5 separate regions of the Homo sapiens genome follow, and regions 2, 3, 4 and 5 are each linked to region 1. The links are contacts of gene promoters, found by promoter capture Hi-C in blood cells and fetal thymus (Javierre and others, 2016). All regions are on one chromosome and are shown on one strand. Each heading gives the region's core, a stretch centred on a gene start or on the middle of the fragment in contact. The rest is flanking DNA. Distances are from core to core; before and after follow the strand shown.

What was found. The method cuts DNA at HindIII sites, captures the fragments that hold promoters and counts their contacts. A CHiCAGO score of 5 or more calls a contact.
Region 2: a contact is called between a fragment that was not itself captured here and the fragment with the promoter of RAD18 in region 1, in 1 of 17 cell types (total B cells). The highest score is 8.2, in total B cells.
Region 3: a contact is called between a fragment that was not itself captured here and the fragment with the promoter of RAD18 in region 1, in 4 of 17 cell types (total B cells, total CD8 T cells, neutrophils and 1 more). The highest score is 7.7, in total B cells.
Region 4: a contact is called between the fragment with the promoter of BRK1 here and the fragment with the promoter of RAD18 in region 1, in 1 of 17 cell types (neutrophils). The highest score is 9.8, in neutrophils.
Region 5: a contact is called between a fragment that was not itself captured here and the fragment with the promoter of RAD18 in region 1, in 1 of 17 cell types (neutrophils). The highest score is 5.2, in neutrophils.

What each region holds. Positions count from the first base shown.
Region 1 is chr3:8,962,115-8,964,906 of GRCh38, forward strand. RAD18 (RAD18 E3 ubiquitin protein ligase) reads right to left here and starts at 1,358. Exons shown (of 13, transcript NM_020165.4): 1 at 1,221-1,358. The coding sequence starts at 1,271. RefSeq lists an enhancer at 1,206-1,375. The HindIII fragment of the contact is 5,728 bases long and covers 898-2,792 here.
Region 2 is chr3:10,736,078-10,738,869 of GRCh38, forward strand. No RefSeq gene overlaps it. Among named protein-coding and RNA genes, the nearest start is that of LINC00606, 27 kb to the right of the region's middle. The HindIII fragment of the contact is 7,718 bases long and covers 1-2,792 here.
Region 3 is chr3:10,327,145-10,329,936 of GRCh38, forward strand. ATP2B2 (ATPase plasma membrane Ca2+ transporting 2) reads right to left here. Exons shown (of 23, transcript NM_001001331.4): 23 at 1-1,981. The coding sequence ends at 1,670. Among named protein-coding and RNA genes, the nearest start is that of MIR378B, 1.7 kb to the right of the region's middle. RefSeq lists an enhancer at 1,140-1,688. The HindIII fragment of the contact is 4,701 bases long and covers 1-2,792 here.
Region 4 is chr3:10,114,317-10,117,108 of GRCh38, forward strand. BRK1 (BRICK1 subunit of SCAR/WAVE actin nucleating complex) reads left to right here and starts at 1,359. Exons shown (of 3, transcript NM_018462.5): 1 at 1,359-1,503. The coding sequence starts at 1,386. RefSeq lists enhancers at 1,167-1,456, 1,907-1,956. The HindIII fragment of the contact is 6,229 bases long and covers 1-2,792 here.
Region 5 is chr3:9,965,681-9,968,472 of GRCh38, forward strand. The region is part of intron 7 of EMC3 (ER membrane protein complex subunit 3); the gene reads right to left. Among named protein-coding and RNA genes, the nearest start is that of PRRT3, 15 kb to the left of the region's middle. The HindIII fragment of the contact is 3,103 bases long and covers 1-2,792 here.

The DNA of each region.
Region 1 (2,792 bases), core at 108-2,607:
AATCTGTGCCCACATACATCAACTAATTTATTTAATCAATCCTATGAACTGTTATTTTTGTCTCTAATTTATAGTTGAAGAAATTCAGGCTCAGAGAGGTTAAGTTACTAACCGAAGGTCATACAGTCAAGAGGCAGACAGGAGATTTCACCCAGGACCACTGGAACTCAAATCTGTGCTCTTCTCCACTGCATCCTGGTGCCAAGCCCACAACTCCAAAACTACAGCTTTCCTGGATCATTTCACAATGTCAGCTTCTCATCATGCAGATATCTCAAGTCCCCAAGCACTCTAGACGTCACTGATGACAGCAGGAAGAACAAGGCCTTCTACTTACTTTAGCCTTCACTTAATTCTAAAGTCAAATTTATGAGTCAGTGGGACAGGTATTATAATCCCCAAGTCTACAAAACTGAGGGAGAAGAAGGCTATCTTAGCCACTGTGAGAAACGGAAATAATCACAGAGCAAGAAGAAACACCAAGCAACTGATCTTTATCCAGCACAGCAAAGTGCATCTGCTCTTGAGCAAATCCAGGGCCCACCACTACTGTAAATGGAAACTGGTATGCCTTGCCAAAACAGAAAGTGGCCACAAAAATAAATGTTATTTAAGTGAAATAATCAGACGCAATGCAAGATCAGCGCTGAGCCTGAGTCCTGATCTCTGTTTAAGAGACATGAGCAATTGTTAGAGAAGAGTGAAGGTGTGTTAGAGAGGAGTTGGGGCAGTATGTCAGAACAAACGAGCACTACGTTTATTGAGAATAATCAGAAGAAATGAAAGAGCCTGTAAAGGAGACTACCTGCTTGGCTACGTGATTACATACATGTTATCTGATAAAGTGTCCACCCAAAATCATGTCCGGTGTCACTGTTTAGTGCTTGACACAAAGTAAGCTTTCAGTAAAGAACAGCTGTCGATGTCATTGTTTGGAATAACTGTTTTTCTCCATGTTATTGTTGGGATTGGATCGCAGAATAGCTGGTGCCATAAGACTGCCAACCTCAGCTCACCAGGCTTGTCCTTGTCACTTATCAGAGGAGTAAACTGAGACCCAGAGCCACGCGGTCGGCTAGTGGCAGGGCAGAGCCGGATACCCGGGCCCAGTGCGACGCTCGCGCCTCATCCTTTCTCCTTAAGGCGAGGACATCCTCCTCAAAGGGAGGGACCTCCCCCCGCAGACACCCGGGAGCTCCCAAACTCCCCGAAGCACTCACCTTCATGACTGCCAGGCCCGGAGGCCACCGAGACTCGGCCAGGGAGTCCATGGTCGCTCCCGAGGATGCTGGGGGTCAGCCACCCACTAGCCTCCGGCGCTCCAACACCACTCGAAATTCCCCGCGCTACCGCATTACGTCAGCAGCCCGCGACGCGCCAGAGGCGGGCGCGGAGCCTGCCGGAAGTTGTAGTAGTATGTGGGCGGGGCGCCGCTTAAGGGCTTGTACTGCGCATGCGCCAGGCTTCTGCCGCACTTACCTTGAAGAAAGTGAATGGTTAAAAAGCGTAGAGCCAGTTGAATATTAAGAAAAGATAGCCAGGAATCAAACCAAATCCAGACCTCACCAGATCTGTCAAGGTCCAGGCTCATGACCCCCCTCCGGGTCGCCCACCCTAATCGCAGTGACTATCCGTCCTTGCTCTGAACAGAAGTTTTTATATCCATTACTTTATGTCTCCCGTATCACAACACTGGGAGGTAGATGTTATCATTGTCAGTTTACACAAGAGAAGCCTACGCCCGAAAAAGTGGATAGAGTTTCGAGTCAGATTCCAAACAGGACCTCTGGGCTTTAAATGGGAGCTGTTGCTTTTATTCATATTAAAATTTTAATGCACGGTTTTTCTTTTTCTTCGGAGAGAAGCACCATTAACTTTGGCATATAGCCTTCTAGATATTTCCTATGCAGATTGACGAAGATTCTTTGCTTGAGCAAACTTTAGTCAGGCTCCTGAACCTTCTCCTAGGCCAATCTGTGTACTTCCTGTAAAAATCCAGTTTTAGCAAAAAACCCTGCTAAATCAAGTTACCAAGAATCCCCACCTTTGATATGTGATCACTCTTGATATCTGATGTGTTCCTCATCCTCCACCATCCCCCAGTTGATGTCTGATCACCCTGGCCTCTTCAGCAAGAATCTACTGTTACCTCTGATGTTTCCTCTTAGTAATTTTTCATGCACTGCTCCCCACCCTGCTTCCTGGCTATAAATTTCCATTTGCCCATGTTGTATTCAGAGTTGAGCCCAGTTTTCACCAATTGCAAGACACAGTTCCAGTGGTCTCTATACCTACTTGAATTGTCCTGATTAAGTCTTCCTTATTGTGCTTTAACAAGTATCATTGAACAATTTTTTTCTTAAACGAGATATAAATATAGATACTTTTTTTCATACATGTTATATTAAATGCATGAGGAATGGAGGTTTACGGTGTCCACCCCCGCCCCCCACTTTGTATCAGCCAATCATAGAACGGCATGCAAATGAACGCAAATGAATGCCAGGCTGAGCTGGAAAATGTCGGATAGTTCTGGATGTGGAGGAAGTGGGGTCTTGGAGAGACAAAGGAAAAGCATTTAAGACCAGGTCCGTGGCCTGAGTGAACCAGTAATTGTTTTTTTCACACTACTAGTTGGACAAGGTAATTAGGTTTAAGGTGACAAATGGCTGGGAAGGTGAGAGAGGAAGAGAGAGGAGATGAGAAAAAAGAGAAAGAATGGGTAAGGAGAAAGGGAGAGAGAGAAAAGACAGGGACAGGAATGTACTTTTTGCATTCAACCATGGAGACAG
Region 2 (2,792 bases), core at 108-2,607, 1.8 Mb after region 1:
TAGGGTTTGTATTATCCTAACTTGCATTATGATAAATCTCCAATAATGCTCTGGAATGGAGCATTTCCCAACTCACTCGACCATTTGAAGAGCAGAGGCATAGCAGGGGTTATCAATTGTTGAGCCTTACTGCAGGCCAGATATTTTATCTCAGCTGAGCTTGAGGGGCAGCACATTGCAGTGCAGCACTAAGATGTGAGGGGTGCCTCTCATAAAACTCCAAATTTATCTCATTTTTTTTTAAACTTTACGTTCTAGGGTACATGTGCACAATGTGCAGGTTTGTTACATATGTATACATGTGCCATGTTGGTGTGCTGCACCCATTAACTCGTCATTTACATTAGGTATATCTCCTAACGCTATCCCTCCCCCGTCCCACCACCTCACAACAGGCCCCGGTGTGTGATGTTCCCCTTCCTGTGTCCAAGTGTTCTCATTGTTCAATTCCCACCTATGAGTGAGAACATGTGGTGTTTGTTTTTTTGTCCTTGTGACAGTTTGCTGAGAATGATGGTTTCCAGCTTCATCCATGTCCCTACAAAGGACATGAACTCATCCTTTTTTATGGCTGCATAGTATTCCATGGTGTATATGTGCCACATTTTCTTAATCCAGACTACTGCAGCACTATTCACAATAGCAAGGACTTGGAACCAACCCAAATTTATCTCATTCTTATGAACGTCTGCCATTCCACAAGCTGGAAGACAGGGAATAAATGTGAGTCCTGTAGGAAGGCATGAGGTGGGAATGCAGACAGGTAATGTTGTACCACAGGTGAGCTCAATCAAGTTAGAGGCACTCACTCATTTCCCTACCCTCTGAGGCAGATCAAGGAATCCCCTCCAGCAATTTCCCAGACCATTGGCTACATGGTGGTGCTGGGGGAATATTAAAGGAGCAGCAGCATTTTACAAATGCCTGGTTTACAGGTGAGGAGAGGCTTTCAGACTTGTCCAAGGAAACACTGCTGATAAGACGTGGGATTTGAACCCAGATCAGTCTTACTACAAAGTCCAATCTCTTACCTCCTGTGTAGTGTGGTTTCCTAGGGCTGGGGGGGTTAGAGGAAAAGAGTTTCCAAAATACTCCTTTGCAGGATAATAAACCCATGATTCCTTTAAACACCGAAAGCAGGTGCAAGAATACTAAATAAGCCTAGAATATCTCGTACCAGAAAATAAGGAAATGTTCAAGGAAGGACGTTGGCATGTTAAAGTGACAGAGGGGCCAGCTTGAAGGGGCTCCCACTGGCCAAAGCCAGGGAAATTTGAATGTCAAAAGAAATAGTCACAGTAATAGATTATAACCCATTAAATAAAACAAGAATCCACGAATCCTTACCAAGTACATATACGAATGAATGAATGAATGGATGGATGGATGAGTGGGGAGAGGAGAGATCTTTTCCTTACAGTTAGATTGCCAACTGATACATTTAGAAGGTATGACAGAGGCTGGGCACGGTGGCTCATGCCTGTTATCCCAGCACTTTGGGAGGCTGAGGTGGGAAGACTGCTTGAGGACAGGAGTTCAAGACCAGTCTGGGCAACAAAGTGAAACCCTCTCTCTACAAAAAAATAAAATTTAAAAAGTTAGCCAGTTGTGGTGGTATGTGCCTGTAGTCCTAGCTACTTCGGAAGGCTGAGGCAAGAGGATTACTTGCCTAGGAGTTAGAGGCTGCAGTAAGCTATGATTGTGCCACTGCACTCCAGCCTGGGGCAACACAGCGAGACCCTGACTCTAAACAAAAGAAGGAGGAGGAGGAGAAGGAGGAATGATGGAATCAGGAAATCACCATTTGGCAACTGTGTTAGTAACAACTTCATCCAGGCAAAAATCCCCAAAGAATGCTACAACTAAACTTTGATGATGAATGACATCATTCCGAGGTACCTCCCCAAGAAAATACTTATTGCTGACAAAGGGGAAAAGAAGAACTAAGGAAAAAATGGCGGACACCACCTTAATAAGGCGATTGACGTTCCTGCACCAGTAATGCGGCAAAGAGAAATTGTGTGCTACCCACTAGGACGCAATGAGAACACAGCATCATTTCTGTGATGTTCCTACTGAAAACAGGCAACCTGAACCCAATAAGAAAGAAACAGCAGCCAAACTGGAGCTGTGGGACCTCCTGCAACATACGTAGCCTAAAATCTTCAAAAGCATCAAGGTTGTGCAAGTCTATGGAAGACTGAGGAGCTGTTCCAGAATGAGGGAGGCTAGGGGGAAATGACAGCTAAATGCCGTGCAGGATTCGGGACCGAATCCCTTGCTCTGAAAGGCATTATCGGGATAGCTGGTTAAACTTGCCTGGAGTCTGAGGATTAGGTGGTTACAATGCATTGATGTAAATTTCCTGATTTTGGTGCTTGTGGTTAGGTAGAGAATGTCCTCATTTGTAAGAAATATCCACAAAATATTTGGGGGGTGGTGGAGTATCACGTTAGTAACTTACTTTTTTCCCCGCTAAAATGGCTTGGGGGAAATAGCTCTTTTTACTACTGCGGCAGCTTTCTGTAAATTTGAAATTATTATACAAACCCGAAGGTGCTTTTGGGCAGTTTTCTCGCCGTTGTTACCTGATGAAGGTGTTACTCGTGGAAAGGAAAGGACTTTCTGAAGAGGGTCGAAGGCCCCCTTTTCCCTCTCAGGCCGGTGAAACTCCTGGGGACTCCTCGCACAACAGACAGAGGACAGCGCCAGCGCCCCCAGAGGTGGTCGGGAAAGGGCCTGGGGTGGACTCTAGAGACCTGCAGCCACGCGCAGCTCGCCGCCGCTGTTGC
Region 3 (2,792 bases), core at 173-2,672, 1.4 Mb after region 1:
AAAGTGCTTAGCAGTTAAGAGGCTGACATCCAATTAAATAAGCTCTTATTAAGTGGGATTACTAGTGCTGTTGTCTTGGGGAAAAAATAACCACCTTTTCTCACCTGTGATACTGTAGGGTTTCAGAATGGCTTTCTGTTTGGGAAAGCAAGACTTGCTGTTAAAAGGCTACAGTATATATTGTGACTACAGGAAGACAATTTGGTTTAAAATCACACTGAGTACATCTCAATATACACATCATAAGGTTCATTCGGATCTAAATAGTGCAGAGAAAAAGGCTATTCTTCTTCAAAAATAAAAATAAAAGCAGCAAGCCATACTGATCCTCATCCAATATGCCAACAGCTCAGATGCTGCCATTAATAAGGAAACAAACCTGTAAGTTACTAAATAAAAAAAAAAATCAACACAATACCATTTATAATATTTCAACACTACCTCAATCTCTGTACAGACAGTGCCAAAGAGAACCTATTTTTGAAATGCTCTTAGTAAACTCAAGCGAGTTTCATTGAGAGAAAAGTCTTCGAGCAGTGCTTTGCAGATCCTGGCATCCTTGGGCCGGATGGCCGTTAGTGTTGCAAACCCAGGAAGCCTTCTCTCCTCCTCTCCCTTCGTCTACGGAGCATGTTGTTAAACCCCTCAGGATGGCAACTCGGTAGCATTTGGCTTCTGCCTGAGCCTCTCACGGTAGTGACATTATTGAACGGAAATAGCAGGCAAAAATCAGAGCATGGCTATCATAAAACATCCAGGATGCAACCCAGGGGAAGTGTCTGTTGGGCCGAGCTGTTTTTATAGCATCTCAGCCACCAGTGTTCTTAAACCATACAAATAGCCAAAGACGTTATCTACAGGTTTGTAAACAAATTACATTCTTCTTTTAGGACATAAATAAGTTAAAATAGAGCAATTTAAGCGGAAACAAGGCAACATGCCGGCAAAGAAACTTTATATATCCATGTATATATATTTATATATATATATATATATCTACCTATCTATATGGACGTATACAGTCTCGGAAAAGTATACGTTGATATAGATACAAAGAAATGGATATAACCTTGTGAGTGTCTATGAAGTTCTTCGGTTCCATTGGTGCAAATCTACTAGGCGAGTTAAGCTCTGCAATTTCAAAAAGTTATTAAATTAATCTATACAACTGAGACCATGCTGTGCAAGCATTTCAAAAACTCACAGACCAGTGGATTGGATAAATAGTCTCAGAAAAGAGTCTGTTTGCAGTTCCCGCCTAAGAAAACAAACAAACAAACAAAAACCCCTCCCCAACCCCCAAAAACCAAACAAGGGGAGGATTGAAAGTGTACAGTACATTCATGCGGGGGACGTGGTGGCTGGGCGGGTGCATGGCTGGTCCATGTCTGGGTGGGAGCCAGGAAGGGCTTGTTTTGGGAAAACCGCTCACTCCCGTAAGCCCCCAGTGGAGATCCCGCCCCTTGCCTTGAAGTGAAAAAGAGTTCAAACAGCATCGCAGCCAGAGAAAGGGTCTGTGGGTGGAAACGTTGGTTTTCTCTCCAGTATTTGGTTTCCGATTGTTGCTCGTTGCTGCTTGGGTGAGTTGGGTGCCTGGATGGATGGGTGCCCGGAAAGCGGGTGGCAGCGGGGTCCATGAGGGCGGGCGGGCAGGCGAGAGGGTCCTCAGCTAAAGCGACGTCTCCAGGCTGTGGATGGGGCTCCCTGGACTTGAAGAGGTAGCTGATTTGCTTGTGTCGGTCGTCAGGTTGATCCCACTGTCGATGGCGCTGTTGTTCTTGTTGAGGGATGACGGCGGGCTCGAGTTCTGCTTGAGCGCGGCATCTTCTTCCAGGTCGGTGTCATCAATGAGGGGGATGTGGGGCTGGGAATCTTCGATCCGGAATTCAGGATGAGCCATGAAGTTATGGATGGAGGTTCGAGATTCAGGCTTTTCTAAACCTTCATAGAGAGAGCTACGGAACGCCTTCACGACGCGGATCTGCAAGGGAAGCACAGGGGTCAGGAGCACTGCCCAGGGACCACAGCCAGGCTCGGGGGGCTCACAGGAGGGGCGGGTGGGAGAAGGGTTAGGGCAAAGCAGGTGGCTGGAATCCATAGTCGCTGGGTGTTATTAGCATTGACAGGATGGGGGAGAGTGAAAAAGGGGGCTCAGGTTATAGGCATCCTTGAGCTGGTTTTTAAAAATCTCTTTGGTTTTGGTAGAAACTAGTGTTAGGACAGGAGGAATCACCAAGCACCATCAAAGAGATGATGGGGAACAGTGGTTAAAGGAAGCACAGTCGACTCCTGCGGGCACCCACACCTAGTGAGAGACTGAGCCTTGTTCACTTTAAAGCAGAGGTTCAACCATGCAGACAGGGAGGAGGACCAGGTGGGAATCAAGTAGGAAAGAGGAGAGGCTATTAAAAAAATTCATCTTAGGAAAACCACACACAGTTAAGAAACCATACAACATGGAACATGTTACGTGTCACAAACAGAAAAGGCACAGAAAGGAGAGACGGTTGGATGAGTTGGGATGAGAGAGACACATGAGGGCCAAACAGAACGGGAACATCAAACCAAAGGCAGCAAAGCAAACCAAAGCCAACCCAGGGCTTTCTGAGGTGCAGAGCAGAGGCAGCCAGAAAGCACATGGGAGCTGGCGGACAGATGACATTCGGGGGCGGGCTGCATGCCACGGGGAGGCCGGGAGCCACATGGCACACACAGACAGACACACGGCTACACTTGGAAGCCTGGACAATGTGAACGGAGGTCGTTTGTACCCAGCGTTTCTTTCCTTCATG
Region 4 (2,792 bases), core at 109-2,608, 1.2 Mb after region 1:
TGACCAACATGCTGAAACCCCGTCTCTACTAAAAAATACAAAAAATAGCCAGGTGTGGTAGCGGGCACCTGTAATCCCAGCTACTTGGGAGGCTGAGGCAGGAGAATCACTTGAACCCGGGAGGCAGAGGTCACAGTGAGCCAAGATCGTGCCATTGCACTCCAGTCTGGGCATTAACAGAGAAACTCTGTCTTAAAAAAAAAAAGTAAGAAAAGGAAGGAAGGAAGGGAGGGAGGGAGGGTATTTTGTTTTTCCCCTCAATTTATTGTATGTGTTTTCATGTTGCTTGTGTTCATAATTAGCATTTAAATGACTGCATAATAGGCCGGGCATGGTGGCTCATGCGTATAATCCCAGCACTTTGGGAGGCCGAGGTGGGTAGATCACCTGTCAGTTCGAGACCAGCCTGGCCAACATGGTGAAACCCCGTGTCTACAAAAAATACACAAATTAGCCAGGCGTGGTGACGTGAGCCTGTAGTCCCAACTACACCAGAGGCTGAGGCTGGAGGATAGCTTGAGCCCAGGAGTTCAAGCCCAGGAGTTCGAGGCTGCAGTGAGCCATGATCATGCCATTGCATTCCAGCCTGGGCGACAGTAAGACCTTGTCTCAGGCTGGGCGAGGTGGCTCACACCTGTAATCCCAGCACTTTGGGAGGCCGAGGCGGGCGGATTGCCTGAAGTCAGGAGTTCGAGACCAGTCTGGCCAACATGGTGAAACACCATCTCAACTAAAAATACAAAAAAATTAGCCGGGCGTGGTGGTGTGCGCCTGTAATTCCAGCTACTCGGGAGGTTGAGGCAGGAGAATAGCTTGAACCTGGGAGGCGGAGGTTGCAGTGAGCCGAGATCACACCACTGCACTCCAGCCTGGGCGACAGAGCAAGACTCCGTCTCAAAAAAACAAAAAACAAGAAAAAACCTTGTCTCAAAAAACAACACAAAAACACAAATTTCCTTCTGAAAGGGACTGTTCCAGTTTGCAGTGTGCCCAGCTATTTATGACCATATTATTTTTTAGACTCCGTCTAAAAAAAAAAAAGACTTGTATTTAATGTGATTTAATCGACTGTGCCCATCTCACTGCGGACACTGAGTGCGCAACCTGAGCCTGGAGCAGTTGAGGGAGACGGCAAGACCCCACGCGCCGTGTAACGACCATAACGCGCGTGCACTACAACCTCGCCGCCGGCGTCCAGGCTTCTGTGTTCTATAGCGTGGGAGTAGAGAGCAAACGCCGGCGAGGACGTGACGTTGCACAGGCCTATCATAGTGCCCGAGAATTCGTGGGTGCTCAAGAGGATGGGTGTGGCCTGGCAGCGCAGGCGCACTAGAGGCCTGTAGGGTCGGGGCGCCTGCGCAGTCGCTCTTCCTCAGGCGGCGGCCATGGCGGGACAGGAGGATCCGGTGCAGCGGGAGATTCACCAGGACTGGGCTAACCGGGAGTACATTGAGATAATCACCAGCAGCATCAAGAAAATCGCAGACTTTCTCAACTCGTTCGGTCAGCGGGCCAGCAAGGGGAGGCGGGGAGGAGGGAGGCCGCTGAGGTGGTTGGGCTGGGGCGCCGGGGAGATGCTTTGAGAGGACTCCCGCAGCCTTCGGCTGTTGCGGGTTTTCACTTCCTCCTTCAGGTCCCACCTTCTCCCTCCCGCCCTGACCCTCAGGCTCCCGTAGACAGTCTCTGTAGGGTTATCCTGCCCTACGCTGAGCTCATGGCTTCCTGCCATCCCTCTGGATCCATTCTACAAGTCCTTCTCCTAGACGCGTCAGGCAGCCCCATCCTCGCTCCGTGGTTCTTCTCCTAAGTGGTCTCCCTGCCTCCTTTGTACTCTGCATCCATTCCGGTCCCCACTTTGCACTCAAAGTGAGCATCCGGGACCGTGTCACTCCTCTGTTTCAAGACTGTTGACCGTTCCCCATCTTCAGGATCTGGTCGATACCCTCTAGCGTCGTGCCTTTTAGTTGGACCCGTTGTCAACCACTCCCGTCTTGTCCATTCCTTCCTGTTTCCTGTGTCTGCTGCGGTGAGAGTGGTGGGAGATGAGGTCAGAGGGATGCCAGGATCTTGTAGGACCTTGGAAGTCCTCTCTGTATTGCTAGTATATATAGCTTATGGTAGGTGTTCTGTCTGCTTCTAGCCCATTCCTCAGAGCTAACACAGGTCGGGTGCCTTCAGCAGAAAGATATCTTTACCAGAATCTTTCCTAGGCATGGCCTGCTTGTGACAGCCTTAAATTCTTCCTTATGAACAGCAAGCAAAGCAATCGAGATTCCTACCCCTTCTTCTCCAAGTGTTTAACAGAACTTGGCACTGGTTAGACTTTCTTGTGTAATTACAGGATATAGGGACTAGTGTACTTTGGAAAGATTTTTAAATGAATGATTCTCTAACTAAAGGACTGATGGCCTTAGGAGTACAAAGGTGACAGAGCAAGAGATTGTCAGAAAGCATCAGCGAGAGATGCTAGAGCTCCATATGAGGCCCTCTCTTAAGGCATAGTGGGAGACACAGAATAAGAACCACTTCCTACATTCAAAGAAGTTCTAATCTTGAAGATGAAATAATGACAACTTCAGGACAAAGAAGAGCATCATTTTTGTATTAAAGTATTTTCATACAGGGTGTTTAGGACTATAATCGTGGCTGAGTTCAATGGCTTATGTCTGTAATCCCAGCACTTTGGGAGGCCAAGGTGGGAGGATTGCTTGAGCCCAGGAGTTCAAGACCAGCCTGAGCAACATGACCAGATCCTATCTCTACAAAACAACGACAACAAAAAAATTAGTTGG
Region 5 (2,792 bases), core at 87-2,586, 1.0 Mb after region 1:
CACAACCTCTGGCAACTACTACGTTATCTTCCGTATCTTTTTTTCACTTATTCTGGGCATATGTGGCCTTTTGTTATTTTCTTTCACTTAGCATGTTTTCAAGGTTCTTCCCTGTTTAACATGATTCAGTATTCCACTCTTATTTATAGCTGAATAACACTCCATTGTATATATTCTACTGTACATACAATGTACATTATATTCCAAAATATTCCATTGTTTATTCATTCATTAGATGATGGACATTTGGGTTATGTCTACTTTTTGATTATTATGAATCATGCTCTGAACACATTCTCACATAAGTTTCTGTGTGGACATACATTTTCAGTTCTCTTGAGTATTTACTTAAGAGTGAAATTACTGGATCATATAGTAACTATGTTTTAACTGTTTGAGGAAAGGCAGAAAAACTGTTTTCCAAAGTGGCTGTACCATCATCAACAATAGGGTTCCAATTTCTCCACATCCTTACCGACACTTGTTATTGTTGATCTTTTTTTTTATTAATTATAACCATCTGAGTGGGCATGAAGTGGTATCTGTTTTTTTTTTTTTTTGAGATGGAGTCTCGCTCTGGCACCCAGGCTGGAGTGCAGTGGCGCAATCTCCGCTCACTGCAACCTCCGCCTCCCAGGTTTAGGCAATTCTCCTGCCTCAGCCTCCTGAGCAGCTGGGACTACAGGCGCCCGCCACCACGCCCGGCTAATTTTTGTATTTTTAGTAGAGATGGGGTTTCACCATGTTGACCAAGCTGATCTTGAACTTCTGACCTTGTGATCCACCCACCTCAGCCTCCCAAAGTGCTGGGATTACAGGCGTGAGCCACCATGCCCAGCCCTCTCACTGTTTTTTAGTTGTTTATTTTTTTGAGACAGAGTGATCTCACTCTGTCACCCAGGGTGGAGTGCAGTGGCGCCATCTTGGCTCACTGCAACCTCTGCATCTGCAATGGTGGATCTCGGCTCACTGCAACCTCTGCCTCCCAGGTTCAAGCAATTCTCATGCCTCAGCCTCCTGAGTAGCTGGGATTACAGGCAGGCACCACTATGCCCAGCTAATTTTTGTATTTTTAGTGGAGATGGCATTTCACCATGTTGGCCAGGCTGGTCTCAAGCTCCTGACCTCAAATGATCTGCCTGTCTCAGCCTCCCAAAGTGCTGGGATTAAGGTGTAAGCCACTGCGCCCAGCCAAATTTTTATTTTTTTATTGTGGTAAAATATATGTAACATAACATACACCACTTTTAACCATTTCAGATGTAAAATTCAGTGGCATTAATGACATTCACAATGTGTACCCATGTCTACTATCATTTCCAAAGTTTTATGTCCCCTTAAACAGAAAATGTGCACAGTAAGCAATTACTCCCCACTGCCCCCCATCCCATCCTCAGTAAACTCTAACCTACTTTCTTGTCTCTGTGAATTTTCCTATTCCAAATATTTTATATGAGTAATATCATGCAATATTAAAGATTTGGGACTTTGACCCATTTGATTTCTTTTTTCAAGACAGGGTCTCGCTCTGTCACCCAAGCTGGTGTGCAGTGGCACAATCACAGCTCATTGCAGCCTCAAACTCCTCAGCTCAAGTGGTCCTCCCATCTATAGGCATGCACCACCACATTTGGCTAATTTGAACCTAATTTTTTTTTTTCTTCTGCACTAACATGCCTGTTGAACCATTTGGACTTAACTTTTGTGCATGGTGTGAAATAGGTGCCCAGCCTCATTCTTTTGCATGTAGATATCCTTTTCCCAGCACCATTCGTTGAATGGAGACTATTCTTTCCCCACTGAATAGTCTTGGTACCCTCTTTGAAAATCAATTGATGATAAATAGATGTGTTTATTTCTGAACTCTCCATTTTATTCCATTGACCTATATCTCTCCTTATGCCAGTTTTTATTACTGTGCAGTTTTGATTACTACAGCTTTGTAATAGGCTTTAAAACCACGGCGTGTAAGTTATTCAATTTTGCCAACATTTTTGCCTATTGTGATTCCCTTGAATTTCCACATGAACTTCACAAGCAGCTTGTCAATTTCTGCAAGAATGGCAAGTAAGATTTTTATAGGGATTGTGTTCAATCTGTGGATAAATTTGGAGTATTGCCATCTTAACAATATTAAGTCTTCCAATCTATGAACATGGATGTCTTTCCATTTATTTAAGTCTTTAATTTCTTTCAGCAATGTTTTGTAATTTTTCAGTATGTCGGTTTAAATCTAACAAAAGGCCATTTCTTTTTTTTTGAGACGAAGTCTCGCTCTGTCACCAGGCTGGAGTCTAGTGGCGTGATCTTGACTCACTGCAACCTCTGCCTCCCGGGTTCAAGTGATTCTCCTGCCTCAGCCTCCCGAGTAGCTGGGACTACAGGCAGGCACCACCATGCACAGCTAATTTTTGTATTTTTAGTAGAGATGGCGTTTCGCCACGTTGGCCAGGATGGTCTTGATCTCTTGACGTTGTGATCTGCCCACCTCAGCCTCCCAAAGTGCTAGGATTACAGGCGTTAACCACCATGCCCGGCCACGGCCATTTCTTTTGTTAGATTTGTTCCTAAATATTTTATTCGTTTTGATACTATTATAAATAAAATTGTTTTCCTTTCATTTCCAATTCTTCATTACCAGTGTATAGAAATACAATTGATGTTGAACTTATTTATTAGCTCTGTTAGTTTTCTTGTGGATTCTTTAGGATGATCTACATACAACACCATGCCATTTGCAAACAGAGATAGTTTTACTTCCTTTCTAATCTGAATGGCTTTTTTATTTCTTT